4 separate regions of the Homo sapiens genome follow, and all the other regions are linked to region 1. The links are contacts of gene promoters, found by promoter capture Hi-C in blood cells and fetal thymus (Javierre and others, 2016). All regions are on one chromosome and are shown on one strand. The core of a region is centred on a gene start or on the middle of the fragment in contact, and the rest is flanking DNA. Distances in the headings are between cores, read along the strand shown.

Region 1 (7,385 bases), core at 1,974-4,473:
CTGTTGACTGAATGAATTATCATAAAACACTATTTTCATTGTGACTCGTAAATCATGTATTTATACACCATTATATTTCTAGACATTACGAAGACATTGCTTGAGCTAGATTTTCTCAGCACCTAAACATACTCCTACATGGTAAATCAGGAATCTCTATATATGGCATTTACTCTTTCAAGCCATCATGGTGTAATTTTTAAAGACTTCAACATATTTGTTTTTTAAAATAGAAAGTTTACTTTTTCCTGCTAGGGTACCTTTCTAAATTTCTTTGGCTGAGTCCTAAGCATTCTATAGATACAGCTATAGATATTTTATTCCTCCATTCATCTGTACCTATCATGACTCAGGGAAACATTCCCACCAAGAGTCTGAAGGATGCCTAGCCCTTTGGAAGTCCTAGTCATCATCCCAATGGTTATTCCTTTTTCTTTTCTTTTTTTTTTTTTTTTTTTTTTTTTGGAGCGGAGTCTTGCTCTGTCGCACAGGCTGGAGTGCAGTGGCGCCATCTCGGCTCACTGCAAGCTCCGCCTCCCGGGTTCACGCCATTCTCCTGCCTCAGCCTCCCGAGTAGCTGGGACTACAGGTGCTCGCTACCACTCCCGGCTAATTTTTTGTATTTTTAGTAGAGACGGGTTTTCACCGTGTTAGCCAGAATGGTCTTGATCTCCTGACCTCGTGATCCTCCCTCCTCGGCCTCCCAAAGTGCTGAGATTACAGGCGTGAGCCACCGTGCCCGGCCCCTAATGGTTATTCTTACTCCCATTTCCTCAGCTGCTTCCACAGAACAGACCTGGAGCCTCTGCCCCCTTGTTTCAAATCAACAACTCTGATTTTCGTCATCAGTTATCACTAACTGATATGTTCTTGTTTATGTCCTTCTTTGTATTTTTTAATCACTATGTGATGTTGTCTATGCATTTTTATTTGCTTATTGTTCATCTGCACTTCTTACACACACTCTTCATAGAATTTAAGTTCCTTGACAGCAAGGATCATGTCTGTTATTCACTGCTATATCTCAGAACCTAGCACCCTCTCTCAAGACGTGATGACAAGAGAGTCTATCCGAAGACATCCGACATGCAGTAACCATTTTGATTCATTATAGCTTGCAGGAAAGCATTCCCAAATAAACAAAGGGCCAAGGGCCATGAGCCTTCTATATACCCACACATAGAATTTCATCACAGGGAATGAGAGGCCAGCTTTCCCACAGCAAGGATGTATTTAGTGTTCCTTGTCCTTTCTCTTTCCTCTCTTTTGAACCATTAGCTTGGCTTTTAAGCATTATATCTCTCTCATGTAGCCCCTCCCTACAAAGCCACAACTTCCTTTGCAAAAGTAATTATGAACATCTTCCTCTTTCACGCATCTCTCTCCACCCTGGCACACACCAAAATACACTAATTGTCTCTGCATAAGGCTACTTGAAAACTTGCCGTATCACCATTTACTACATTTTTCAGGCTATCTACAATTTTTAGTGCAGTGCAGTCTTTCTTATCCATTCTCTTTTTACAAGCAAGTTGCCAACACTTGTCCGGTAACACTAAAGTACACTTAGAATTATGCATTTCTTCAAGGGAAGACAGGTGAGCCATGCTCTGCCAGATTCTTGTCTGCAAAGGATGACCTTGAAAAGTCCTGGAGAAACTGGCCTTTTCATTCCTGCGTGTTCACCTCCACTGTGCCTGCTCACAAAGGAAGCCTTAATGCCACGGACCATTGTACTTTTCAAGCATCATTGCATAGGGAAGAGACACTGCCTTCACTACTGCCATAGCCAATCTTAAATAAGCTAAAGAAATACTAGAAGTTGGGACTGTAAGTGAAATGGCATATTCTAAGGGCAAAAACCAATTTCCATGGAACTGAAATACCTGCCTCGTTTAAGGCAACCATATGACACACGGGTTCACAAGTGCTAAAAGTTCATTTACTCCCTCAGGTAAAACAAAGCTGCAGCTGTAGTTAAGGCTTGAGCTGCAGTTGTTTCCGGAACAAGAAATAGAACCAAGAAAAGATCTGCAAAGAAGCACTTGAAATGGACATTCAGACTCTATAGTTTTTTAAAGCAGTGGCAGCGTTGCTTCTTTCTCCAGCCAGACCCCAGATACCAGTGCCTACCAAAGTGTCCTCTCTCACACACCCTCCTACAGTGTTAGGCTTTGTGGGAAGTTAGAGATCATATTCTCCGGGGGCAAGGACTATCTCCCAAATAGGCAATGTGAAGACATCTTAGCAGGGAATTGAGTCATCTTGGGAGCTAGGAGGAAGATGGGTTACACCTTAACAATGGTCTGCAGCAGGAAGATCCATTAACCATTATGCCTTAGCGCACCCACTCATACTCACTCATATTCCCCCAGGGGTGCTCTGATACGACACTGTCCACGGACTGCACACTCTTCAGGTCTAATTAATGATGCCCACCCTCCCCACCTACTAAACACATTTGCAATTTAAGCATCTCTAGCTCTCCACTACCACCCACCTTTCTCCTCCACTGTCCCTTCTTCTCCATGGAGATAATTAACTAGTTGACTACTTATTAGTCCTTCAGTTGATTAGGATTTCAGGCTCACACTAAGGCCTTATCCTAAAGTCTATAAAGATTTGTGACACCGACAGGGTAAAAATTCGAAACCAGCTAGCAAAACTTTCCTGAAGGATAGAGATACTCAAGATCTAAAAATTATCTGAAGGGTTGGATTCCACACCATGAATCCCCTTTTCCCCCTTCCCCACAGCTCCCTATAGTGAAAGATCCGTAACCTTAGGAATAAATGATAAATCCTGTGACTATTAGGTTTTTCCTGGGAGTTCCTCGGAGACCCGGAGGTAACCGTGTATGTGCGTGCGAGTGTGTCTGTGTGCGTACAAGGTCCGGAGAAGCGAAACGGTCGCAGGTTCCTACAGACCCCGACCCTGTTCCCTTGGCCACCTGGTCCCCGGTAGCTGCATCCCTGGGCGGCGCACGCAGTGAAGCGTCGCGCTCTGGCGCCGGTGCCGCACCGAGGGGTATGACTACGACCCCTTGCGCGTGCCCGCCCCCACCTCCGCACCTCGCGCCAGCCCGCGCAGCGTGACCGGCAGCCGCCGCAGACCCGGCTCGGGGAGGCGCGGAGCGCGGCGCGCTGAACCGGAGAGGCGGGCCGGCTGCTGCCTTGCGTTCGCCACGCTGTCCTCCCTCCTCCGCTCCCTGCGCCCCACCCCTGGCGGCCGCGCTGCCTGGCAGCCCGGGAAGCCGCGGCACAGCTGCTCGGCGCCTGCAGCTCCGGCTCGGGGGCTGGAACCGAAGCGGGGGCGGCGGGAGCGCGGAGACCACAGCCCCCGGGGAGAGGCGGAGGGGGTCCCTGGCCTGGGCGGAGAGGCTGAGCTGAGTGCGCGTGAGAAAGAGGGCTGCACCGCTGCTCGGCGCGGACTCTGCCAGCCCCAGCTTCAGCCCCGGCTCAGGTCGCCGCAGCCCGGGAGCCTCCCCGCTTGCGCCCCAAGGCACGCGCGGCACAGCCATGAACACCAACGATGCCAAGGAGTATCTGGCCCGGAGGGAAATCCCTCAGCTTTTTGAGGTAGGGCTAGAGCTGGCCGACGGGCGGTAGCATCCGGGGACTGCATCTCAGGGGTTCGGGTTGAGGCAGCCGCGCCCCGTCCCACCTTCCCCACACGGGGCATGTAATGAAGGGGCTTGTAGAAGCGCACTCGCCCGCTCCCCCGAGGGTAGTCGCCTTTCCCGCGGGTTGCCAGGGTCCTTGTCAGAAGGCTGGGCTTAGAAGCCTGCATCTCACAGATCAAGTTTCAGTCTTCCAGCAGGGTTCTGAAAGCAGCCTGCTCCCATCGCGCCCCTCGGATGTGGACACCCAGGGTGGGCTGCAGACCGCGGCCGGGCCGCACTCTCTGGGGGCGAGGGCCAGGTCAGGTGGCTGCACTGTCGCCCAGCAGCGAGTAAAGACTCGAAACTGAGGGAGCCAGAGCCCTAGTCACTCTGCTGGTCGAGGGTCGGAACCCCTGGGGGAAAGAGGAAATGTGGACGAAGGCAGCCCTTCCTGGAGACAGCTTGGAAGAGAGGGATGAAGATGCAAAAAGCAAAACCCAACCTATCAAGTGCCACCTCCCCGGTGACAGGCCCCCAGCCTTGCTCTGCGCTTTCGCTGAATGAACTCCTGAGCACGTTTTTCCCGTTGCCTAGGAAGGGTTGGGCCGCAGGTTTCGCCAGTGCTCGACAACCCACCTGGAGATAGCGGGTCGGGGAGGGAGCTGCGAGGGGGGCGGACTCCTGTTGCTCAGTCTTCAGACCGCAGCACAGCATCATCTGCACCGGGACCCGGGAATGGGGGGACACTTGGAGACTGAGAGAGAGGAGGCTCGAGGAATGAACCTTGGTCTGTTCTAAGCCACAACCCCTGTCTCAGGTCGTTTGGCTTCCTTTCCTTCTCTTTGTATTTGAATTTAAAAACATTCCTGAATCTCAAGTGCTTTTGCTTGAAGTAGGGGGGAGGAGGAGAAAAGAATAGAAGCAAGCCAGGCTTCCTAAGCGAGCTCTGAAAGGAGAAATCCATTCACTGCAAACCTCGTTCCCCATTTCTGAAAACGGATAGACTGATATCGTAAACTAAAGGTCATGAGGGTTTTTCCCCCCGGTTTGGGGGATTTGTTCTGTTAAAAGGAATTTTAAAGCACCACTTGAGAAAATAATTTTGCCTCAGTTTCCCTAAACTATCTTTAAAATGGGTTGCCATAATTACAGGTCTTCTTTTCTCTCACCTCTATAAGCCACCGTTTTCAGGTCATCTGAAGTCAAGATTTCCAGGTAAACCACTCACTGAACTCAAGCGTGGTATGTGAAGCCCAAATCTAGCAAATGTGTTACTCCTGCGTGAAAATAATTAGGTGGTGTTGCATAAGGACAGGTCTTGAGAATATGTGGGAATCTTAAGAGTTGTTTTTTTTGTTTGTTTTTATTTTCAAAAAGTAAATATGGAAATTAAGAGGCGAAGGTTTTTCTCACAAAGATTACTACTGAGATATATTTCATTTCTACGCTTCTAAAAGAATCATTAAAAACATCTGTAGGAGGACCACGTGATTGCAAAAATTCCTACATAGTACATCTTTTTTTCTTTGTAAATGTGGGTACTGTTTTTCCTCCTTGGTGGAAGGTAACCACAGAGAAGTTTGATAGTTTATTAAAATCTACACTGTGCATGCAAATAAGTTATGGCAGGCCTTTTTGTTAAGGTTTTATGTTTCTTATTTACTTTTCTGCATATGAATGGGATAAATAATGCACACCCAGAAAAGGAAGTCAACTTGCTTGGGTGAAATACAGTAATGGACTTAGATTCACTTGTGGACAATGAGAAGATGGAAGTAGACTGCTGGTGACCTCAAAGGCTACATCCTTCAGTAAGACGAATCTGTGCTATGCGCAGCTCAAGAGGGAAGGAAAATCTGGCAGTTCTCCATGTGATTAGTGTAGACTGTAAAACTAAAAACTTTAGGTTTTTAAAATGGATTTTGCCCACCACAATATTTTAGGTGTACAAAGTTTAACAATTAGCTGTCTACTAAACACCAAGACATTGGCCCCAGCTGTGGATTTTAGACGCTATTACAGACAAACTGACTGATTATTGTATTGACGTATTGTCAGACAAGTAAATATATCTAACTGACCTTTTCAGATTTTTTCCTAATTTGAGACATCATGTAAGCTAAATGGAATATGGGATATCTCTGGTACGTTCATGTTTGAAATGTGTTTCCAGTTTTAGACTTTTTTAAACCCACTTTCTTATTATTTTGTCATGAGTTCTTAATTCTGGCTAACCTTATGGTGTGTATATTGATCTTGTAGCTTACAGCAGAGATTTGGCAATCAATTTGAATACTGTGGAAAGTCAGATTATTCAAGGTCTCAAAGGGTTCACTCAGAGACTGAGCAATAATATGTGCTGGTTGTCTTCAATCCCTGATAGTGGCTGGCTATTAGAAGAAAAGATTTGAATTATCCGTGAAGGAATGGAGCTCATTGTCCCATTTTAAAATCAATGCCCTTTGGTGAACCAGTATTGTTTAAGGACGCTGGAAATGTATATTTTCAGAAAAGAGTCATTGAGAGTGTTCACCCATTTCAGGCAATAGTAGGGATAAAAAGAGGGCATTTTGCAGAGGGCACAGAGAATCTCATGTTTTCTTTTATCTCATATCACGTTTCTGCAACAGGTACAGAGAAGAACATATGGGTTTTGGAATTGGAAACATTGAATTGAAATCCTGGGCCTAGGAGTTTCTAGTTGAGTAAACTAGAGCCATCACTAATATCTCTGAGCCATGATTTCCTAATCTATAAAATGGGGATAATAAAGTCACACAGGGCTGAGAATGCACTGGGTATGCAAATAAATATATGACACAGAGGCTTTTATTTATTAATGAGGCTAATACTGGCTTGGCGTATGGGAAGAATGTGAGAAGCTCAACTGCAATGTGTGTGTATATGGGACAGATTTTGACAAACAAACTGAATTGGATGCCCGGGTAATTTTTTCTGCTCCCTCTGCAATTGAACTTGGCTGATGGAGGTGCACACTCTAGCTTACTCTATTTAGGATTTCAGAAAACAAATGTACCTAGTGAGAATTGCCTACCATTCTGAGGAAATTACACAGGAAATAATTGAAAATAAAATACTGTATTTAAACAGATGTCAGCCCTTCAAAGGGTGTTTTGTATACTAACAATGTATATTGGTAAGAATAATCCTTTATGCATTTTCCATGAAATACTCTAAAGGAAAATATTTTGCACATCAGTCCAGCTTCCAGGAATCAGCATTTCCAAACTGGTAGCATTTTTAGAATCTAGTGCCAGTGACACATCAGACACCATGAACCAAAAAAGTAATAGCAGGATCATGCTTTGTTTCTTTTCCCCTCTGGAATCTCAGTGGATATCGTAGTGACTTACTCTATGTCAAATAGTAATTTTTTTTTTTAGTCTCAGACCTAAATTTTTTTGAGTCTCAGTTAGACTTGAGCTTTGAGGGATTTTTTTTTTCCAATTGGAAAACAGTTAAATATGCACCTACCAAATGCCAGGGAAAGCATCAGTATCTGGGGATTGAAAAATGAATTAGACTCACTCTGTGTTGTTGAAGAGCTTATAGTTTAGAAGAAAGACTATTGCATAACCGAATGGTTTCAGTATAAATGACAAGTATGATGTTTTATGCTGGATACCATGGGAACACAGAAGAAGGGGTTCACAGACAAACCTAGGGATTCAGAGAAGACTTCCTGATAGTAATAATAACTAAAACCAACAAAGTTTATTGGGCACTTACTATGTGCCAAGCATTTAATATGCACTGTACAAAT
Region 2 (7,385 bases), core at 2,044-4,543, 240 kb after region 1:
CCTCGGGGACACCAGGGGCTTCCTGATTGACGGCTATCCTCGGGAGGTGAAGCAAGGGGAAGAGTTCGGACGCAGGGTGAGTGGTTGTTACGGGCATCCTTCCAGAAGAAAAATAGGGGACATCCTTGAGGTTGGGTGATAATTCAAAGTCTATTTCTTTCCCAATTACATTAATGAAAACTTTAAGGGGCAGAAACTTGACTCAAACTAGAAATTTAAAAAAAGGAGATTTATTGACTTAAGTAACTAAAACACCCAGCAGTGGTTTAGATTTGGTTGACTCCAGATATCCAAATGTGTTCATCAATTGTCTGACTCTCTCTCTCTCTCTCTAATTCTCTTTCCTTTGTGTTGGTCTCATTTTCTTCCTGATCAAGGCTTACCTTCTACCATCTAAGTGGCTTCATAGAAAAGTGTTTCTGTTTCCCAGTGGGTCCAGCAAAAGACCCAGAGTTGTGTTTCCTATCCTGGATTTGGTCACAGTCCCATCATCACTGAACCAATTACTGAGGCCGAGAGGGAAGAAGAGGGAATACGCTGGCTGGCCCAGCCTGGAGGACCAAGGAAGGATGGGAAGGGAGGAGGGAGCAAGGGCACCACACCTGAACCACACAGGGAAGGAAAATTACCCCCAGGAAAAGTAGGGCTGCCCTTACAAGAAGACGGGGGAATGGGTGCTGGACAGGCAGAATCAGAACTACACACCACCCTCCCACTATCCTCCCACCATCCCACCTCCCTGCCCACCCTCTCCTAGTGAGGAGGGTGGGTCAGGGATACTCACAGGGGAGCAGCAGTAAGTAAAAACCATTGTGGCTGCCACGTATTGAACCCACTCTGGGCCAGATCCTGTGCCCACACTTTATAGAGAGTACCTGTAATCTTACAAGTCCAGGCAAGAAGGGTAAAACTGGCCTCATTGTTAAACAAATACTGACTTGAGAACTTAAAAGAAATTCATATTTATAGAGATATCTCTTCAGACTAGTTTTGAAACATTTTTCATATACAGTTTTCTCGTTTTTTTTTAATAACCTTTTTAGATAGATAGGGGAAGTATTGTCCTCATGTTAAAGGTGATGAGTGAAGCCCAGAAAGGGTTAATGACTTCCCCATGGCCACACAGCTGGTGACAACTTACTGGTAAGTGCCAACTGCTAGCAGGACTAAGATTTTGCGGGACCCATCGCCATCCACTTCTAGTAACATTGATTGAGGTGAATTATACTTGTGTGTCTCTGGGGGTTTACTTTGACCTCCTTCTGAGCCTGTTTCATTTAATTTCCTTAGTGTCAAAATACTTCAAGGTCAATTGCTCATCTTCCCCTACACTTCCTACATGAAACCAGAGTCAAAGAAAACATGTCTAGGTCTAGTTGGCATGGGTGGACCCTGGACCCATTCTGGCTGTCCCTCGACTCCAGAGCTTCCATCAGCAAGATGGGGGTGGGCAGGGAGAAGTGGATTTGCAGAGCAGAGCCCCATTACTGTGGAAGTTTTAGGCAGTTCTTGATGGGGGACACTCACATGCCCAAGTTCTAATGAGCTTTTTCCCATGAAAAAAATCACTTCAAGAGCACAAACCTCAATATAAATTAACTAGTTTTTTACAAGATGGAATTGGGAGCGTTGTTCTACTTTTTAAATAATTGTGGTAAAATAGACATAACAAAATTTGTCATCTTAACCATTTTTAAGTGTACAGTTCAAGGATGTTAAGTACATTCATATTGTTATGAAACCATCACCACCATCTTGAGAACTCTTTTTATCTGCTAAACTGAAACTCTACCTACTATTTATTTTATTTATTTTTATTTTTGGAGACAAGGTTTTGCCCTGTTGCCCTGGCTGGAGTGCAGTGGTGCATTCATAGCTCACTGCATCCTCAACCTCAAGGCCCAAGCAATCCTCTCACCTCAGCCTCCTGAGCAACTGGGACTGCACCACCACACCCAGCTAAACTTTTTGATTTTTTGTAGAGATGGGGATCTCACTCTGTTACAAGGGCTGGACTTGAACTCCTGGGGTCAGGTGATCCTCTCACCTCAGCCTCCCAAAGTGCTGGGATTACAGGTGTGAGCCACCGCACCTGCCTGAAACTCTACCCTCTCCCTCCTTTCCCCAGCTCCTGACAACCACCATTTTTCTTCCTATCTCTGTGAATTTCACTATTCTAGGTACCTCTTATTTCACTTAACAAAATGTCCACAAGGTTCATTAATGTTGTAGCATGTGTCAGAATTTCCTTCCTTTTCTGGGTCAAATAACATTCCATTGTATGTATATGCCACATTATTTTTATTCATTCACCTATCGATAGAGACTGGGGTTGCTTTCACTTTCTGGCTATTGTGAATAATGTTGCCATGACTACATGTGTACAATATCTGTTCAAGTTCCTGCATTAGTTCTTTTGGGTATATACCCACAAGTGGAATTGCTAGATCATATGGTAATTCTATTTTTAATTTTTTGAGGAGCCACCATACTACACATATACATACATACTGCCAGCCATAGTGGCCACACCACTTTACATTCCTACCGACAATGCGTGAGAATTTCAATTTCTTCTCACCAACACTTGTTATTTTATGGGTTTTTTTGATAGTGGCCATCCTAATGGGTGTGAGGTGGTATCTTATTGTGGTTTTGATTTGCAGTTCTCTAATGATTAGTGACATTGAGCATCTTTTCATGTGCTTTAAATGAAGTTGTTTTCTTTTTGTTGTTGTCTAGTTGTAGGAGTTCTTTATATATTTTGGATAGTAACTCCTTATCAGATATATGACTTACAGATATTTTCTTTCATTTGATAGGCTGTCTTTTCACTCTTTTGGTTGTGTCCTTTGATGCACAAAAGCTTTTCATTTTGGTGTAGTCCAATTTATCTATTTTTACTTCTGTTGCCTGTGCTTTTTGTCCTGTACAAGAAGTTATTACCTAATCCCCATGAAGCCTTCCCTCCGTATTTTCTTCTAAAAGCTTTGTAGTTTTAGCGCTTATATATTTAGGTATTTTGATCCAGTTTGTTTGTTTGTTTCTTTGTTTGTTTGTGATGGAGTTTCAGTCTGTCGCCCAGGCTGGAGTACAGTGGTGAATCTTGGCTCACTGCAACCTCTACCTACCAGGTTCAAGCAATTCTCGTGCCTCAGCCTCCCAAGTAGCTGGGACTACAGGCACATGCCACCACGCCTGGCTAATTTTTTTGTACTTTTAGTAGAGACGGAGTTTCACCATGTTGCCCAGGCTTGTGTTGAACTCCTGGCCTCATGTGACCCGCCTGCCTTGGCCTCCCAAAGTGCTGGGATTACAGGCGTGAGCTACCATGCCCAGCCTTGATCCATTTTCAGCTAATTTTTTATATATGGTGTCAGATTATTTTGCATACGGATATCTAGTTTTCCCAATGCCATTTGTTGGAAGAATATTTTCTCCTACAGAATGATCTTGACATTTATGTTAGTCCGTTCGCATTGCTATGAGGAATACCTGAGGCTGGGTAATTTATAAAGAAAAGAGGTTATTTTGGCTCATGGTTCTGCAGCCTGTACAGGAAGCATGGCATTGACATCTGCTTCTGGTGAGGCCTCAGGAAGCTTCCACTCACAGCGGAAGGTGAGGGAGAAGCCAGTGCATCACATGTTGAGAGAGAGATGGCAGAGGCCCCTGACGCTTTTCTATAATCACATCTTCCATGAACTTAGAGAATGAGAACTCAGTCATTACCACGAGGATAGCACCAAGCTGTTCATGAGCAATCTGCCCCCATGACCCAAACACCTCCAACTGGCCCCACTTCCAACACTGGCGGTCACATTTCAACATGGGATTTGGAGGGAACAAATTCCAAACCATACTAGCATCCTCATGAAAAATCATTTGACCATATATATGTGAGAGTTTATTTTTGGACTGTCTATTCTATTGGTCTATATATCTGTCTTTATGCCTGTACCACATTCTTTTGATTACTGTAGCTTAGTAATAAGTTTTGAAATCAGGAAGTGTGAGACCTCCAGCTTTGTTGTTCTTTTTGGTGATTGTTTTGGCAATTGAGGGCCTCTTGAGATTCTATATGGTTTTAAAATGATGTTTCTATTCCTGGAAAAAAAAATTAGGATTTTGATAGGGATTACATTAAATCTGTAGATCACTTTGGGTAATATCGACATCTTAGCAATATTAAGCCTTCCATGGATTGTTTTAGATTTTGTTTATTCTAATCTTCTAGCCAACGTCTAGGCTGTGGATAAGTCCCTAGGGATACATTCTAAGTAACTGAGGAACAGGAGTATTTTTCTTACACCACCTTAGAATCAAGGCCTGTGCAGGGCTGGGGGGTTGGAGGGGAAAGGAAGAGGAAGGTGTGGTACAAACGTTGAGAAGCTTCCTGTCTATGAGGATTGGCAGTTGTGTAAACATGACACTAACATACAATTGTAGATGTGTAATAACTGCTGCAGGGTCAACAGTGTTTCAGGCTTTTCCCACTTACCTTGCCCTTGAACTTAAGGTTAGAAGAGCTCTGAGAGACCCTCCAGGAAAGTCAGGACAGGTCCTGCGCATGTTTGGAAGCGATGGGAATAAAAGTCTTTTTTTTTTTTTTTTTTTTTTTTTTTTGAGACGGAGTCTCGCTCTGTCGCCCAGGCTGGAGTGCCGTGGTGCGATCTTGGCTCACTGCAAGCTCTGCCTCCCGGGTTCACGCCATTCTCCTGCCTCAGCCTCCCAAGTAGCTGGGACTACAGGCGCCCGCCACCACACCTGGCTAATTTTTTGTATTTTTAGTAGAGATGGGGTTTCACCGTGTTAGCCAGGATGGTCTTGATCTCCTGACCTCGTGATCTGCCCTCTCAGCCTCCCAAAGTGCTGGGATTACAGGCTTGAGCCACCTCGCCTGGCCAAGTCTTTTTTTTTTTTTAATTGCTCTGAGAGGTGGTAGAACATTCTCTTGAAACCCTCAAATGATCGAGGACAAGATGTATAGTAAATAAATAAGGTCTCTCTCTCTCTCTCGGTCAACAACAACAAAATTAAATTATAATCCTTATTCTTCTTTGGGGAATTTTAAAATTGAGTCTGAAGGCAAACCCCAGAACTTAACGCCTATGGGGTTCCACATCATTTTGAGCAATGACAACCCTGGACCTTCCCAAGGTGGAATCATTAAAAGCATGTCACTCGTGTACTCTGGAGTCAGAAAATCTAGGTTTTCACCTGTCATTTATTATGGAGATAATAATACCTGTTAACACCTATTTAAAAGGTTTTGTAAACATCAGATCATATAACATGCATAAATGTCTTCTAAGCTATAAAAGTTTATAAAATATTATCTAGTTTAGCATCACTCATTTGTTAATCACACCTCATACAAGCCTCTAAAATTCCTGCTCCATCACCACTTCCTCCTTTGCTTAAAACCCAGTTAGGGTGAGCTCAGAGCTCTATGCAGCCCATTGGTCTGTCCTCTGGCGTAAGTATGAATTCAAATGGTCCATGTGATCTTCCCTAAAGTAAAGCAAAAAACTTCCTCTCCCACTGTGGTCCCCGTTCAGACCGGTTTTAGAATGTGGCAGAGAAGAAGCCTAACTAGAACTAAGGAACAAGAAAGTCATCAACATGGTGACTGGACAGTTACACTCAATGCTAAAATTCATGATTCCATTTCAAACAACACACAGGTAACACATTTCATTACTGAGCATACAACCGTTAAGTGAGATTTTAGACATCTACAAAGATGATTTCTTACATACTGCTAGGAGGAACTTACAGAGACCAAGAGTGACATTGATTTGTCCCTGGGTACAGTAACTTTAGAAGATTCTAGTATCAATTAAGCAGGTGTGCAAGAGAACACATCCAGCCCTCCAGAATGAGCTCCTGCTTTAAACCTGACCAGATGGCCGGGCACGGTGGCTCACGCCTGTAATCCCAGCACTTTGGGAGGCCGAGGCGGGCAGATCACCTGAGGTCAGGAGTTTGAGACAAGCCAGACTAACATGGCGAAACCCCGTCTCTACTAAAAATACAAAATTAGCGGGACGTGGTGGCACATGCCTGTAATCCCAGCTACTTGGGAGGCTGAGGCAGGAGAATCGCTTGAACCCAGGAGGCAGAGGTTGCAGTGAGCCAAGATCGCACCACTGCATTCCAGCCTGGGCAACAGAGTGAAACTCCATCTCAAATAATAATAATAATAATAAAACCTGACCAGATGAACAAAGATGCTACAAACACAGAATGAGCTACTGTTGACTCCTTAATGCCCTGCAGGGCCCTTCATTTGTAGCTCCCCTCCAAATTACAAGCAAGAAATTCATTTGAAATTTGACAAAGACAAATGCAGACATCTGATTTTCCCCAGAGATTCAAAGTAATCAGCTTGGTTGAAAGCATAGTATTTCCCCTAGTGCATCAGGCCTGCAACTATGTTTGAGGTCCATTCAAGCCTGGAGAGGTTTTAACCAGCCCACAAAAATCTCACCAGCCTTTCTGTGTCACCGAGATTGATGCGTCCGATGCATTGGACCATCAGTTCCTTTAAAAATTCAGTTAGTTAGGCTGACACTTTTGCATACCTGTAGCTGAGTTCTCCGAGATACAAGGTCCTTTGAGGATTTCCTTGGACACTGCATATGACATCGCTAAAAATCAAATGCAAACTAATGTCCACAGCTTAAGGGTAAGTCTATGTGTGGTTTCTGTTACCTTCCTATCTTCTATTCCCCAAGCTGGTTTTATCCCTGTTGAATTACAACCTATACCTTCAGTTTACAGAATGATTACTGGGGGAGGGGCTGTGTATATGTACATGTATGTAATGCATGTATGCATGTAGATGTGTGTAATGAGGCAGAAGGAATATGAGGGAGGAGTCAGGGTTTCTGATCACCATCCTCATTCCCCACTCCAGCTGAGAACCCCTGGTTATAGTGACTCTGGTGTGAACAGGCCTGTATTTGGAGCCTGGCTTTGTAATTCATTGGCTGGTAAGCAAGTCAGCTAACTTTGTAGATCTCCTTCTCCTCTTCTACAAAATGTTGGTTGGAAATACATACCTCAGTGATTGTTGGGAAGATTGGATGGGATCCTTGACAAGTGCCTTTACACACTTATAAGCCTACATATGGTGTTCAATAAGTCTTTACAGTTTTTTTAATAATGTGTATTTTTTCTGACTATAGAAATAAAAATTATATAGTATGAAACAATACACAAAAATATAAAACAAAGAATAACTAACCACCCAGTGATAATACCTATTAATATTTAATGTATGTTCTCCCCAAGCTTTGTTCTGCCTGTTTTTGCTTAGTTAAAATCATACAGAACATAGGAATAGTAATTATTTTTTGAGTACTTACAATGCGCCAGAA
Region 3 (7,385 bases), core at 3,334-5,833, 200 kb after region 1:
TATAAAGGCTCCATATATAGATATAGAGAGAAATATATATATTACTCAGGGAGGTGGGGAGGTAGAAGGGGCAGAATGTAAACAAGCTCAGGGCAAATGTATATATATACATATATATTATATATATACAAATATATATTATATATATGTATATATATAATATATATGTATATATATACTATATATTATATATATGTATATATATTATATATATACAAATATATATTATATATGTATATATATTATATATATACAAATATATATTATATATATATGTATATATATTATATATATACAAATATATATTATATATATATATGTATTACTCTCTCTGTATATCTATATATGGATCCTGTATATATGTATGGCACCTAATAAAAGTTAAGAGACAAGCCAGTGTGCTCTGTAATTCCCAGTGACTGAAGCTCAGCTTTGCCATTTTATTTCTGTTTTACAAGGAATTAGAAAACAAAGAGGTAAAGGTCAAATAATTCCTTGGCAAGACTAGTCAGATGTGACTTTATGGCCAACATTAACTTTACATGAAATTAAAATGGGAACTTTGCCCCTTCCTTTAAACCACCAGCCTGACAAAGCTCTTCTTAACAATGGTGCTACATTTGGCATCTGAAGACAAGATCAAAGTGTTTCATAATCTTCTAGCAGAGAGTTGAGTTGAACACGTATTTGAGATGATGAAAAAAGGAACTTAGAGAAAAACAGTGAGAAAATTTTTTTCTTTAAAATTTCTTATTAGAGACACTAATATTGCAATTTATATGTAAGAGAAGAAAAATACCATTTCTCCTAGAGAACTAGGTCTGTTAAAGCAGTTTATATAGAGAAACTGCAATTTAATACAACTGGAAAAAGTTAGCCTAGCATCTACCACATTTTTTTCAACTCTGTTTACTCAGTTATACAAGTACTTTACAGCAAGCAGACCTCTAATTGTGTAGTTCAGTGAATGAGAAATGGGACTTGCTGCGGAATAAATTCTGGGGTGTAACTAAATTACACACCATTTCCCATACTTTTTTTCTTTCAAATTGCCCATTACTTTAAATGAAAACATGGTTTAGAAAAGAACTGTAACCACTCAAAATTTCTGAAGGACCAGTCTCCCTTCTCCCTGGTGATAAAATGTACTTATGTTTGTATTTTTCAACATTCTCCTGCTGAAGTTCCAAGGGATTTCAAAACTTCATTCACAGTTTTCCAGTAAAACCTGTAAAATTCATTTTCAGATCATTGGTTTAGCATGATCCAGCTTCAGCTCCACTTTTAGCAAATGAATCCATCTTCGTTTCTATTCATATGACACCAGGAGCATTTCTAACGATGCCCCTCCCTGCTCACCATACTCCGTCATCCTGCACTTATGTATCATCTCACGCCAGCCGGGTCAGCCGGAGGAAGGCAGAACATGGGCTTGGGGAATTGGGAAGCCCGACCCACCAGGGCATCCTGCACAAGTTGCATAAGCTTTCTGAGCTTCAGTTTCCTCATCTGAAAAATGGGAAACATCAAACTTGCCTACTTCCTAGTTTTTTTCTGAGATCAGATGAGATTGCACATGCTGAAAACACTCTAAGTACTACTGAAATAATAGTTCCAGTAATCATTTTCTAAAATTGTTTAATGTGTGAGGTGTTTTGCTGTTTTTTTAAAAAAAAAAAACAGGTATAAGGAAAGTGCAAAAAAATTCATTTTCAGGTAAAAAGATGAGGAAATAGCCTGATCTATTTTTGATTGTTCTTTTTAGTGTGTGTGTGTGTGTGTGTGTGTGTGCGTGTGTGTGTTTCTGAGACAGGGTCTCACTCTGTCATCCAGGCTAGAGTGTACTGATGCAGTCATGGCTTACTGCAGCCTCAACCTCCTAGGCCCAAGCCGTCCTCCAGCCTTAGCCTCCTGAGTAGCTGGGACCACAGGTGCACACCACCATGCCCAGCTAATTTTTTAAATTTTTTGTAGAGCAGGGTCTCACTATGTTGCCCAGGCTAGTCTCAAACTCCTGGGCTCAAATGATCCTCCCTCCTTGGCCTTCCAAAGTGCTGGGATTATAGACATGAGCCACCACATCTGGCCTGGTTGTTCTTTTTAAATTATTATTCCATCCTATTAAGATTCTGCCCCTCAATGAAGTGAACCCTTCCAAGAACTTACACGATATTTTTTTGCTCCACCTCTATCCCCACCACTCTGCTATTACTTCCTGTAACCAGAGAGAAGTCACTAGACCAATTTAAATAGAAATCTAGGAAAATCCTCATATGCTAGCATTTCATGGTTCATGATTCTTCCAGAATTTGAGTTATTCTGTTTAGTACTCATTGAGGTAAGAAAAAATTAGAAAAGACTGCTCCTTACATTATCTTAGAGACTAAGGAATCACTTTTAAATCCTTTTTTCTTTTTTCTTTTTTTTTGCATTTTGAAGTTATCTATGTTCAGTGTCAGAAAAACAAAGTCTCCTTTTTTTGCAGCATTCATTTGTGAATTTTAGAGCAAGAAATTAATCTTAGCTGTAACATTTTAATGTCAAGTAAGCCCCTTTCTCATAACCCCATTTGAAGTTACACATTTTGCTACCATGAAACACACATGCTGGTTAATACAAACAAGTTACTCTGAACTGGGAATACACCCCCAAAATGACCTATTACTTCTTTCTCCTTCTCAGGAGAACTTTAATTTTGTGGCCTCCAAAAGCATTTTTAAAAACCAAAACGGTTTAAGGAAGGACGGTGGGCATATCTGAATACATGATTGTCATCTCCAAGAGCAGTAAGAGGATGCTGCTGAGGAAGCAGAGGTTAGTGTCAGAGAGCTGACTTCAAAGTTCAGCTCACCTCTTGTGCCATGGGAAGCCCAGGCACATCCCCATCCTGTGCTCCCTCAGAATCTCAACTACAAGTTCCTCATCCATGAGGTTGCAGTGAGGGTCCAGTGAGATCATATCTGCAAACAGGCTTGCAAGCTGAATTATTTAAATGTCAGCTTCTTATGATGAGGTGATCTGTGATATGGTTTGGCTCTGTGTCCCCACCCAAATCTCATCTTGTAGCTCCCATAATTCCCACATGTTGTGGGAGGGATCTGGTGGGAAATGATTGAATCATGGGGGCGGGTCTTTCCTATGCTGTTCTCATGATAGTGAATGGGTCTCAGGAGATCTGATGGTTTTAAAAATTGGAGTTCTCTACACAAGCTCTCCTTGCCTGCTGCCATCCACATAAGATGTGACTTGCTCCTCCTTCTCTTCCGCCATAATTGTGAGGGTTCTTCAGCCACGTGGGACCATGAGTTCTCCATTAAACCTCTTTCCTTTGGAAATTGCCCAATCTCAGGTATGTCTTTATCAGCTGTATGAAAACAAACTAACACAATCTACTGTGGCAATGCCACAGAAATTGGTTCTGTCACCAGGAGCAGTCACTATGCTGTAATCAAACCCAGTTGAAGAAGATAGTTTCTTAAAATTGGTGAACCCATCTGTGAGACTAAGTTGTTCTATTTTGATCTCCCTCATTTAAAATTCAATAATTCAAGGAAATGGAAATGACTAGACATGAATATCTTAAGGTGGTGATGATAGGCACCCTGATCCTAAAGGAAAGCACATATATACCCCAATTAGCCACTCTTCATACAAATGATAGTACCAGAACCCAGCCTTGCAAAAGTAGTTTTTTTTTTTTTTGCATATACACCTACACAGGGAAATAAGGTTGAATGTGGGTTCCTTTTGCCCTCCTAATGGGTCTTGATTGACTGGAAGATGAGGGATAGAGACCAAAGCAAGTCTCTAATCCAAATCTGCAGTTTTCCATAGCCAGTAATCCCACTTTGAAATTTTAAATGTGTCCCTTCAATAGAATTCTAGATTTCTCCTCATCAATTACCAACATATTACCCAATCTATAGCATCAAAATGAGGTAGCAACCTGAAATTGTCTTTTTTTTTTTTTTTTTTTTTTTTTGAGGCGGAATTTCGCTCTTGTTGCCCAGGCTGGAGTGCAGTGGCATGATCTCAGCTCACTGCAACCTCCGCCTCCCAGGTTTCAAGGGAGTCTCCTGCCTAAACTTCCTGAGTACCTAGGATTACAGGCATGCGCCACTATGCCCGGCTAATTTTTGTATTTTTAGTAGAGACGGAGTTTCTCCATGTTGATCAGACTGGTCTCAAACTCCCAACTTCAGGTGATCCGTCTGCCTTGGCCTCCCAAAGTGCTGGGATTACAGGCGTGAGCCACCGTACCCGGCCTGAAATTGTCTTTTGGTGTTAGTGGGTTTGCTGCAGCTTCTCCCACCTTAACAGTATTAATCACAGCATTGCAGGCTGTGCCTTGGCGCCCCATACATGTGAGTCTTAAAGGTCACTTAAATCAAATGTGTGACTATATTTATACTCTCTCTCTCTCTCTTTGTCAGTTCAGAAGATTTAGTATCCCACTTCATGTACCTCAAAACCTAGTTTAATACTATGGAAAGTCACCTATGTCCCGTTGTGCACACAAAGCCTAACTCCATAATTCAGACTTAAGGTGACAAAGGGTGGACTAGATGGAGCCTCAACACAGAAAAAGGCCAGAACACAAAGAGGCACCCACAGACACTCAGAGTGGTGGCTAATGGGTTGAGTCTTCTCAAGTGATGCCTCATTGAAGAGGAAGCTCCAAGGCGACTGAGCATAAACACCTGATCAGACGTCTCCTGAATAAGCCTACAGCCTTTGGTTCCTTGTCCAAGTGACATTCTGAAATTAATGCCTTTCATGCAGAACACACCCAACATTTGAAAAGTAACAAGATTTAGTGCTTACAGGGGCTGTTTGGTATCTTTTTCACCAAAACCAGAAGTGTTTCCCATTCACCCCGAGTGTGTGTGTGTGTGTGTGTGTGTGTGTGTGTGTGTGTAAGATGCCAGATTAATTTTGTTTACAAAATATTCACATTGGAACCATGAGGTTTATTGAGAGTCCCTGGTTACACCCTCCAATCAAACATCTCATTCACCTGGGCTTTCATGTCAGTGCACCGCATTCCTGGTGAGAGTTGATGACAGTTGCATCTATGTCCCAGCAGCCTGTTCACTATTGATGAATTAATGAAAATAAAGCTGGGGCTCATGTGAAACATTTGAGCAAGTGTAATAGAAGGCTGTGAATAATAGCTGTGGATACAAATAGGTCAGACTCAGGAAGCCTGGCAGAGGTCAGATGGGCCCTTTTACAGTGGGATGCACTGTTTCAGGAATTCACATTAACCACGATCAGACTCCCCAAACATGATAGCCATGTAGAAGAAAGATCTAATACAGCCTAGCCTATAAGGTGGGTATAAGTCTGATAATCTAACAATAATATTAAAAATTGAGGGAGAGGACTCCATGGTTTCCTCTCAACATTACCTAGATAGATTCAATAGCTGTTTGACAAACAATAAGAAGATTTAGATTAAACAATCCTTTTCCAGGAAATACTCTTGAGCCTGTTCTATGCAGCTGCACCTTAGGCAAACTTATTAATTGCTTCAAATAGGTCCCTGTCTTAAATCCAAAATTCCCTGAGAATTTGGGAACTCCTCAAGGTCCCTGTCTTGAGCAGTAATTGATATTTTTCCCCTAGAAGCAGAGCCTGAGACAAGAATTCTCATGCAAGTGCATTATTAGGGAGCCCTCTGAGGAGAAGCAGGATAGGGCAGGGGTAAGAGCTAAGCAAAGATGTGGTCCTGGCTCCATCCTAACTTCAGCCTGAGACCATGGTGAGCTCTGGGGCTCAGCTTGCACCATGGATTCATCCCAGCTTGAGGCAGGGAGCCAGACTGTAGTGGGCCCTTAGCAGCAGTTCGGTGGCTGGGTGCCTGGCCAGGTGAGCAGAGGAGAGGGGATGCCCCTACACTGATGAGACCAAATGCATAGCAGCCATGCAAAGTGGTAAAAGAAGTGGTTCTCATCCCATCCTGACGTCACTAAGGACATGACGGCATGGCCATGGGCCCTTCGCATGACCTCTCTGAACATCAGTTTCCTCATCTGTAAAATGGAAGAGTGGGTGGCAGGATTGGATTAGGTGATCCCTAAACTCCAAGCTCTGAATTGCGGTAATTTCAACAAGGGAAGTGGTGGAGAGGCTTGTTGAGGAATAATTGATGTTTTTTCTATTCACAGAAGAGAATTCATTAATGTAAATGTGTCCCTGAATGACCACTCTGTTAATAGCTCTTCTCTTACCTGGAATAGCACTGAATGCACAGGCAACTCTAAGAAGATGAGCAGTAAAATTTCCCTGAAGGCATATATTCTAAACAGGACAGCAAGAATCTGTCTTTAAATAAAGTGTTTTGAGGGCGGTTTACCTCAAGGGAGTGTTAATACAACCAGACAACCTCATTTAACTGACTCAGGCATCAAAGTGAATTAGAGGCAAGAGGCCAGCATAAAGCACAAGCCAGAGGCTGTCCCTTCAAAATGGTACAACCTCTGTGGGGAGCAGTTTGGCAAAATTCGATCAAAATTATAAATACATTTACTCTTTGACCATGCAGTCCCCTCTCTCGAAATTTAGCCTGCAGTATGAAATGATATTTATGCCAATTTACTCACTGTGCCACTTTTTCCAAAAAAAGTTTGAGACTGGAAACTACTCACTGATCCATCAATAAAGGACTAATTAAACAACAACAATTATGGTACCACATATACAATAGAATGCTGTGCAACTGATGATATTTGGTACTGAGAACATTCTGTACTTATATGGAAATTTCTCCAGGATACATTGATCAGAGAAAAAGCAAGTGGAGGAGCAATGTATTATAGAATAGTATTATATCGTAAACACATATGCATGTATAATAAAAGTATAATGCTTTTGTATAAGAAGTGGAGATCATAATATCTATTTATGTTCACATGTATCCCTGGATATCTAGAAGTCATTTTTGTTTGCCTCAAGAAAAATCTGTATAAGTGGTTACCTATGAGGGGTGACAGAGTGGAGAAATGATACAGGTGAAGACATAGGTGAGAGTGAGAGTTCTCACCTAGTGCCTTTTTATAAAATGTTTTTCTGAATTTTTTTCCAACCACCATGGGCTACTCCATAAGGAATAGAGCATCTGTTTGATTAAATTATTTTTTAATGAAAACTTTAAGGTAGGAATCAATAAAAACTGATCACCCCTACTTCCTTTATTTCATGCTTTGGTTCGGGGATTGGCAAATTATGGCTAAATAGTTGCCCTGTAGGGGCCGGGCACGGTGGCTCATGTCTGTAATCCCAGCACTTTGAAAGGCCGAGGTAGGCAGATCACTTGAGGTCAGGAGTTTGAGACCAGCCTGGCCAACATGGTGAAACTCTGTCTCTACTAAAAATACAAAAAT
Region 4 (7,385 bases), core at 3,660-6,159, 170 kb after region 1:
GGGACTGTTGAGAAGGCATGATTGGTTTTGAAATGTGAGGACATGAGATTTGGGAGGGGCCAAGAGTGTAATGATAAGGTTTGGCTATGTCCCCACCCAAATCTTATCTTGAATTGTAACTCCCACAATTCCTGCCTTTTATGGGAGGAACCCAGTGGGAGGTAATTGAGTCATGGGAGGGGTTGACATGCCCTGGAGACATTTTCCCCATTGTCTTGGGGATTAACATTCGGCTCCTCATTACTTACGCAAATTTCTGCAGCCAGCTTGAGTTTCTCCTTAGAAAATGGGATTTTCTTTTCTATTGCAATGTCATGCTACAAATTTTCCACACTTTTATGCTGTTTCCCTTTTAAAACTAAATGTCTTTAACAACACCCAAGTCACATCTTGAATGCTTTGCTGCTTAGAAATTTCTTCCACCAGATACCCTAAGTCATCTCTCTCAAGTTCAAAGTTCCACAAATCTCTAGGGCAGGGGCAAAATGCTTCCAGTCTCTGCTAAAACAGCAAGAGTCACCTTTGCTGCAGTTCCCAACAAGTTCCTCATCTCCATCTGAGCCCACCTCAGCCTGCACCTTGTTGTTCGTATCACTATCAGCATTTTTGTTAAAGCCATTCAACAAGTCTCTAGGAAGTTCCAAACTTTCCCACATTTTCCTGTCTTCTTCTGAGCCCTCCAAACTATTCCAACCTCTGCCTGTTACCCAGTTCCAAAGTCGCTTCCATATTTTCAGGTATCTCTTCAGCAATGCCCCACTCTACTGGTACCAAATTACTGTATTAGTCTGTTTTCACACTGCTCATAAAGACAAACCCCTTCTAACCAAATGAGAACACACTTAAAATGTCCAGTTTTTCACTGAATATTCATACTCTTTAAGAAATATCAGAGTCAACAGTTTTTATTAAGTGCCTATCCTGTGCCAAGAGTTCTCATGATCTGGTTTAATCTTCACAACAGTAAAAAAATTATCATTATCCCCAAGGTCACACAACTAATAACGTCCTCACTCTAAGTTCATCACTTTCCAATAAGGCATGCTGCTGCCCCAGAATCTATAATAACTATCCTCAACAACCTTCTGCTAACCCCCTCAAAAAACTAGCTTGATCTTAACATCATATTTGCAATCATGTAAGTTAATTTCTTCACGGGTTTGTAAAATGAGCAAGTTATATAAACATATGCCTAAGATTGTAAGAAATGTCAAGTTTGTGTTTGCTTGTCTTTCAAGCATAATACTCTTTGATTTCCTTATTTTGTTAAATTTAATAACTTTTTTATTATTTATAAAAGCAAAACTAAGCTGGTGCAGTGGTTCACACCTGTAATCCCAGCACTTTTGGAGGTCGAAGCAGGAGTATCATTTGAGCCCAGGAGTTCAAGACCAGCCTGGGCAACATAGTGAGCCCTCATCTCTAAAAAACTTTTTTTAATTAGCCAGGCATGATGGTATGTGCCTGTAGCCCTAGCTATTCAGGAAGCTGAGCTGGGAGGATCACTTGAGCCTGGGAGGTTGAGGCTGCAGTGAGCCATGATTCTACCACTGCACTACAGCCTAGGCAACAGAGAGACCCTGTCTCGAAAAAAAAATAAATACATAAAGACATAAAAGCAAAACTACATGCTATGGAAAATTTGAAAAAAAATACAAAAAGTATAAAGAAGAAAATTAACATTGACATTATGAAGCATTTCCTTGATTGATAGACATTTAATAATGTTATAATCAGATTTTGCATTTAATAATATAGAATTTCCCATGTCATCAAATAATTTTTGTAAACACATTTTAATGGCACTATAAAATATAATTCTATAGGAACACCATATTTATTTTCATCATTCCCTTATTGCAGAACGCCTGTTTTTCCTTTCATCTTTTCACTGTTATAAATAATGCTGCCCTGGCACATCATGGCACATAAACTTTTCCTAAATCTCTGAATATTACTCTAGGAGTAAATAAGGACCAAAGCGTATAACGGATAGCATTTTCAAACCCTCTGAATCTCAATTTGCACATGTAAGTACTTGGGTACATAGGAGCTGCTTAATAAATAATCTTGAATGAATAAACATGACAGTAACGTCAGTCTCTCAGGGTTGTACTTGCAGTTTTCCAAATCATTCTCTTCCTCTCAACCATGCTTTTGTATATTCTATATTCTGTCGGCGATTGCCTTTGCACCATTTCACCTGGTTAACTGGTGCCTGTCCAGAGAAATCTCTCCTGACAAGACCCTCCTACCCCAGGGACCTGAAATCTGTAAGGTACCCATTTGAAGCAGTCTGTGCTTACTGAATTAATCATGTGGAACAATCACATGTTTCTACCTATGTCTGCCCGCCAGATTGTGAGTTCCTTGAGGACAAGGACTATGTTTTATTTCTTTATTTATGTACTTTTCTCAGGTGCAGAGGCCCAAGTTAAACATATCTTTCGGTTCAGGGAAAATTGCCATTATTTCTGTGAAAATCCACTTCGTATTTTCCCCCTTTGATATATTACTTTTTAATTTATTCTTTTTTATATCCCCGTAATCATCTTCCATTTTTCTCTCCTGCACAAGCATCCATTATAATGCAATTATATGTATCTTTTTGTTTGTATGTATTTTCAAAATGAGCTATGTTGTTCTATATATGTATGTCTTACTTAATTTTAATGAATCGACATACTTCTGTATCAACACTTGTTCATGACTGGCATATCTTTAATTTTCAATAAATGCCTGTGGAATTATGAAGAAAAAAGGATAGCATTGCAATATTCTCCTTCTTTCTTATCAGATATACTTTAATAATAAATCAAGGATTATTGATTGGGCAAAGGACTCCAAAAAGGAAGATTTTTAGATAAGGCTGTTTATTTAAATGTTTGGAGTAAGAGCTGTCAGATTGGATCCAATTTAGTCCCACATGACTCATGATGCAGAGTATATTAAATGCTAAAATATCTGCAGTCTGTTGATCAATAAGGTAGTTCTCCAAAATGCCAGTCACCTATGCGGCCAGGCTAGATTAAACGGTGCCACAACAACATGCATTAGAGCCTCTCATGCTTTTCCATGGAACAAGTTCACTCCACATTCAGTCCTTCATTCAGCCAAGCATAGATAGAACAAACAAGTTTCACTGGGCCTGGCTGTCTGCTAGTGCTTCCATGAGCTTCTAGAAACAACAATATTATTCAAAACATCCAAGAGTTCTTGTAATTTCCAAGCACACATGCTTTCTTAAATACCTACAGCCAGAGTCCAGAACATATCCATTTATCTTCCTATGTTTCATTTGATCTCATTTTATCTGTGGAGGCAAATGTGTTTTTATTAAAAAGAAAAGAAATTTGTGGACACTAAACTAGGAAGCAAAATTAAATAGATTGTATAAAATATTTCATACAGACTAAAAGCTATAGAGAATGATATAACAAACATCATTTATCCACTGCCAAGCTTAAGAAATAAAACATTGCAAATAACTGAAAACCTCTGTGCATCCCCTCTTTAGTCACATTCCTCTGGCCTGTCCCCAGAGATGTCCCCGTTCTGAATTCAGTGTTTGTCAATCCCATATTTGTCTTTCTATTTCTGCTGCATGTGTAGGTATATCTGTAGAATGTGAGTTCCCAGAAAGCAAGTACTTTTCTCTGTTCACTGATACATCACCAGCACCTAGAGCAACACATGGCACATGGCAGGTTTTCAAAAAGTATTTATTGACTGTTGAATAAATAATGTATTTGTAATAATGTCAGGATTTTTTCATATTTTAACCCCTTATAAAGTGTTTCATATTGTATATATCCTTCTGCAACTTAATTTGTTTGTTCAATCTATGCTGATAATGTAACTTGGCTCCATTCATTTCACTGCAGTATAGTATTCCAATGTAAGATTAGAAGACTATTTATTTATCTGTTCCAATCATGGGCATCTAGGTTGTTTCCGATTTCTAATATTGTAAATTTGTTGCAGTGAATGTCCTGATACTGTTTTTTTGCTCCATTGTGTAAGAGTTTTTCTATAATAAACAGCAGGGGAGAAAGTGAGAAGGGACTGACTCTTGCCTCTACTATATTTCTTCCTCTTCCAAATCTCTAGGTGAATGGGAAGTTGGGAAATCAGCTCAGCCCTCTGGGCATCAGCTTCCTCACAAAGAAGATGAGGCCAGTTGGTCAGCCAATCTTTTAATGGGTTTATGTATCTTCGACTTTATTATTAGCAACAACGGTATAAGTAGTTAGGAAAGGACTAATTTCCTCCATGTAAACTTTCTGTATTTTTCTGAATCAGTTTCATTCCATAGCCCTATTCTTATTGGTAAAGGAACTTTCATTCTCAGTCATTGTACGGGGAGCCCCTTTTTCCTCTTCTCCAGGGTCTTAATAGGGTCTGGAAAGACTCACCTGGTCCAAAAAGTTTGAGGAAGAAGCTTCTAGTCTTCAGCTCTGTAGGGTCAACATGAGATGCTTATTGTTCAAGCCTGTGTGATCCACCCAAAAGTAGGCTGCTCTACTACGGCATCCATGCTGCTGTGACCGGATGGACCACAGGACAGTTGAGACCCCAGCTAGATATCTGCCAAACCCAGGACTGTCAGCAAGGGAATAGGGTTCAGGTCTTCTCCATTTATAAACTACCAACCCCTCTTTACTCTGGAATATTCTCACTCTCCTGGCTGGGATAGACAGTGTTGGCTCATTCCACTCCCCTCAAATCCTACTCCTAATTGTATGCCATCTTGGTCAGTATTACTCCATCCACCCCAGGAGCCCAGAGCCTAGCCATTCTCTCTCTCTCTCTTTCATGAACCAACAGCAGGAAAAGAAAAAGATATGGTTACTTTCTCATCACATATCTAGCTAGCTTTATTTCTAGATATTTTAATTATTTGTATTTTCATCTGCTTTATTTACTCTGAAAATGATTGCATTCTAACAAAATATATTTAAATTCTGTAGACCAGACCATAGCTATTTTGTTTAATTTATACTTTCCAAAGAGAATTAATAGATTTACCAAAATAGGAAATTAATGTTTATCACCAAAACAAATCATTATCAGGCAAAGTCAAGTTGAATATATAACACTTATACCCGCAGCTCTTCACAATGGAAAAGTTTTAACTGATTTCATCTCGCACACAAATAATTTGATGACATTAGTCTTACACATTTTCTTGAGTGGGTCTAAGTTGCCATTTAAATGGATATGTTCTCTCTCAAGTTTTTTTTTTTCTTTTGTGGAGTTTAGTTCATAAATTACAATCCTTATCAAGAGTTAAAACTTCAAGTGTCATCTTCTCTCTGGACAAAGATGTTGAGCAAGATAGTTAATCATGTTGCCTTTCCTTTTTTGCTCTATGATAAGAAGCTTTTTCCACTATCCAAGCAATGATGATTAACAGCTCACTTTTGCTGAGCACTCAATTTGGGTCAAGTATTAAACTGAGTGTTTCACATACTTCTTTATCCATACCAGAGCCCTATCTAGCGGGCATTAGTAAGCCCGTTTCATAGATGAGAAAACTGAGACTCTGAGTGTGAAATTACTTGGCCAAAAACATCTAGTATATCGCTAACGCAGGAATTGAACCAAATCTCCCTGACTTCAAAACTGCTGTAATCTGAATGATTGTTTTCCCCCACAATTCACCTGTTGAAACCTAATCACCAATATGACCGTGTTGGGAAGTAAGGCCTTTGGGAGGTGATTAGGTCGTGAGGGCAGAGCCATCATGAAGACATGAGTGCCTTATAAAAGAGGCCCCAGCTTGCCCCAGCAAGCTGCCTTGCCCATCCCACCATGAGAAGGAATTCCACCATGGCAGGCAATGTTTGCTGGAGAAAATGAAGAGGGGAAGCCCCTAAAACAGCAAGTAATTCCTCAATATAAGTTTTGAGATTTAATAGTGAGGGCACAGCCAGAAGGCATCATCTATGAACAAAAAAACAGGCCCTCACCAGACACTGAATCTGCCAGAGCCTTGAACTTCTACTTCCCAGCATCCAGAACGGTGAGCTATAAATTTCCATTGCTTGTAACTCACCTAGTCTATGATGTTTTATTATAGCAGCCCAAACAGATGAAGGCAAAAACTACTGCTCTGTACCCAATAGTCATTACCCTAGCTGCACATTAGAATCACCGGGTGAGCTGTAAAACCTCCCCACGTTCACGCCCCACCCCCAGAGATTCTGAGAATGAAGGCTGAGCAAAGTTAGGTTTTGAAATCTCCCCAGGTGATTGTAATGTGTGTCTGGCATGAGACCCACTGTAACTAGCTAGGAAGGCTGACAGCTGAAAGGGATCAAGTCTTCCAGAATAGAGCAGATCAAAAGCACCAGGAGTGGTGGTCTCCAAAATGTAAGAAAGTATGATTTTTAAAATTCATTTAAATGTGAAGGAAATGTGCTAATTCATGAAAGTAACCCATAAAATCAGAGAAGAGTACCTGAAGTGCCTAGGATTGTGCAGTTTCCATGCAGTTATTCAGCTCGGACTTTGTCCACTCTAAGGCAATGTCTGTTTGGAGAAAATGAACAGTGGAAGCCCCTAAAACAGCAAGTAATTCCTCAATACTAAGAGTGAGGTTTCATAGAATTTAGAGAACTGTAATGATAAGACTCTACTACCGCAGTTGTTTCCTCAGCTGATTGAGCCCTGTGGCAGATTTTATCTTTGTTTTTCCACCTGCTTAAGGACACTAGTTTCTGATCTCCCAGGAAACTGGGAGTAAACCCCAACCTGACTGCAGCTCTCACCTCAGCATGGAGAGGTTTCACTTGGCATCTGCCTGAATACAGATGTCTCCGAAGGTTAACAGCCTGTTCTGGTGTTACACCTTGCTAGAGAAGAGAGCCATCTTGACCTGGATACATTTCTCCATCTCCAAGCTTGGGCTGGGGCTCAGGGGGAGAGTAAGAAATGACTGGGCAGAGAGCATGTGCCAGGGAGCAAGAACAGCACCTTCGAAGGCACAGACTTAAAAGAACGAGGATGGGCCTCAGTTCCAAGTATGGAGACCAGCTGTCCCAGCTTACCTGGTAAAATGCCCCATCTTAGGAAACCTCTTCATCCTGAGAAAATGGGATGGTTGGTCACCCTAGTTCCAAAGAACCATGCAGAATGGGGAAGGAGTGACGTGCAGGGCATCACTGAAGCCTAAAGCCTGCTCTTCTCACCTGCCCCATGCAGCCTTTTCTGAAAACCAATTAACTCCTCTGTGTGGGCCTGGTTGAGCCTCATTCTAGTATCTGGGGTCTGTTGTCTTCCTCTCTATGCATCACTTCACTTTTCTGGAGCACATCCTGTAGTAGTTTCCTTAAAAAAAAAAAAAAAGTCAATGGGAGGTACATTTTCTAAAAGTCTTCCAT

The links. The method cuts DNA at HindIII sites, captures the fragments that hold promoters and counts their contacts. A CHiCAGO score of 5 or more calls a contact.
Region 2: a fragment that was not itself captured here is called in contact with the fragment with the promoter of AK5 in region 1 in 1 of 17 cell types (monocytes); the score reaches 5.9 in monocytes.
Region 3: a fragment that was not itself captured here is called in contact with the fragment with the promoter of AK5 in region 1 in 1 of 17 cell types (monocytes); the score reaches 5.2 in monocytes.
Region 4: a contact is called between a fragment that was not itself captured here and the fragment with the promoter of AK5 in region 1, in 1 of 17 cell types (non-activated CD4 T cells). The highest score is 5.3, in non-activated CD4 T cells.

Annotation. Positions count from the first base shown.
Region 1 is chr1:77,278,796-77,286,180 of GRCh38, forward strand. AK5 (adenylate kinase 5) reads left to right here and starts at 3,224. Exons shown (of 14, transcript NM_174858.3): 1 at 3,224-3,578. The coding sequence starts at 3,519. RefSeq lists a silencer at 3,084-3,143. The HindIII fragment of the contact is 11,909 bases long and covers 1-7,385 here.
Region 2 is chr1:77,521,868-77,529,252 of GRCh38, forward strand. AK5 (adenylate kinase 5) reads left to right here. Exons shown (of 14, transcript NM_174858.3): 12 at 1-76. Among named protein-coding and RNA genes, the nearest start is that of ZZZ3, 160 kb to the right of the region's middle. The HindIII fragment of the contact is 614 bases long and covers 2,987-3,600 here.
Region 3 is chr1:77,475,240-77,482,624 of GRCh38, forward strand. The region is part of intron 8 of AK5 (adenylate kinase 5); the gene reads left to right. Among named protein-coding and RNA genes, the nearest start is that of AK5, 200 kb to the left of the region's middle. The HindIII fragment of the contact is 6,200 bases long and covers 1,484-7,385 here.
Region 4 is chr1:77,449,587-77,456,971 of GRCh38, forward strand. The region is part of intron 8 of AK5 (adenylate kinase 5); the gene reads left to right. Among named protein-coding and RNA genes, the nearest start is that of AK5, 170 kb to the left of the region's middle. The HindIII fragment of the contact is 941 bases long and covers 4,440-5,380 here.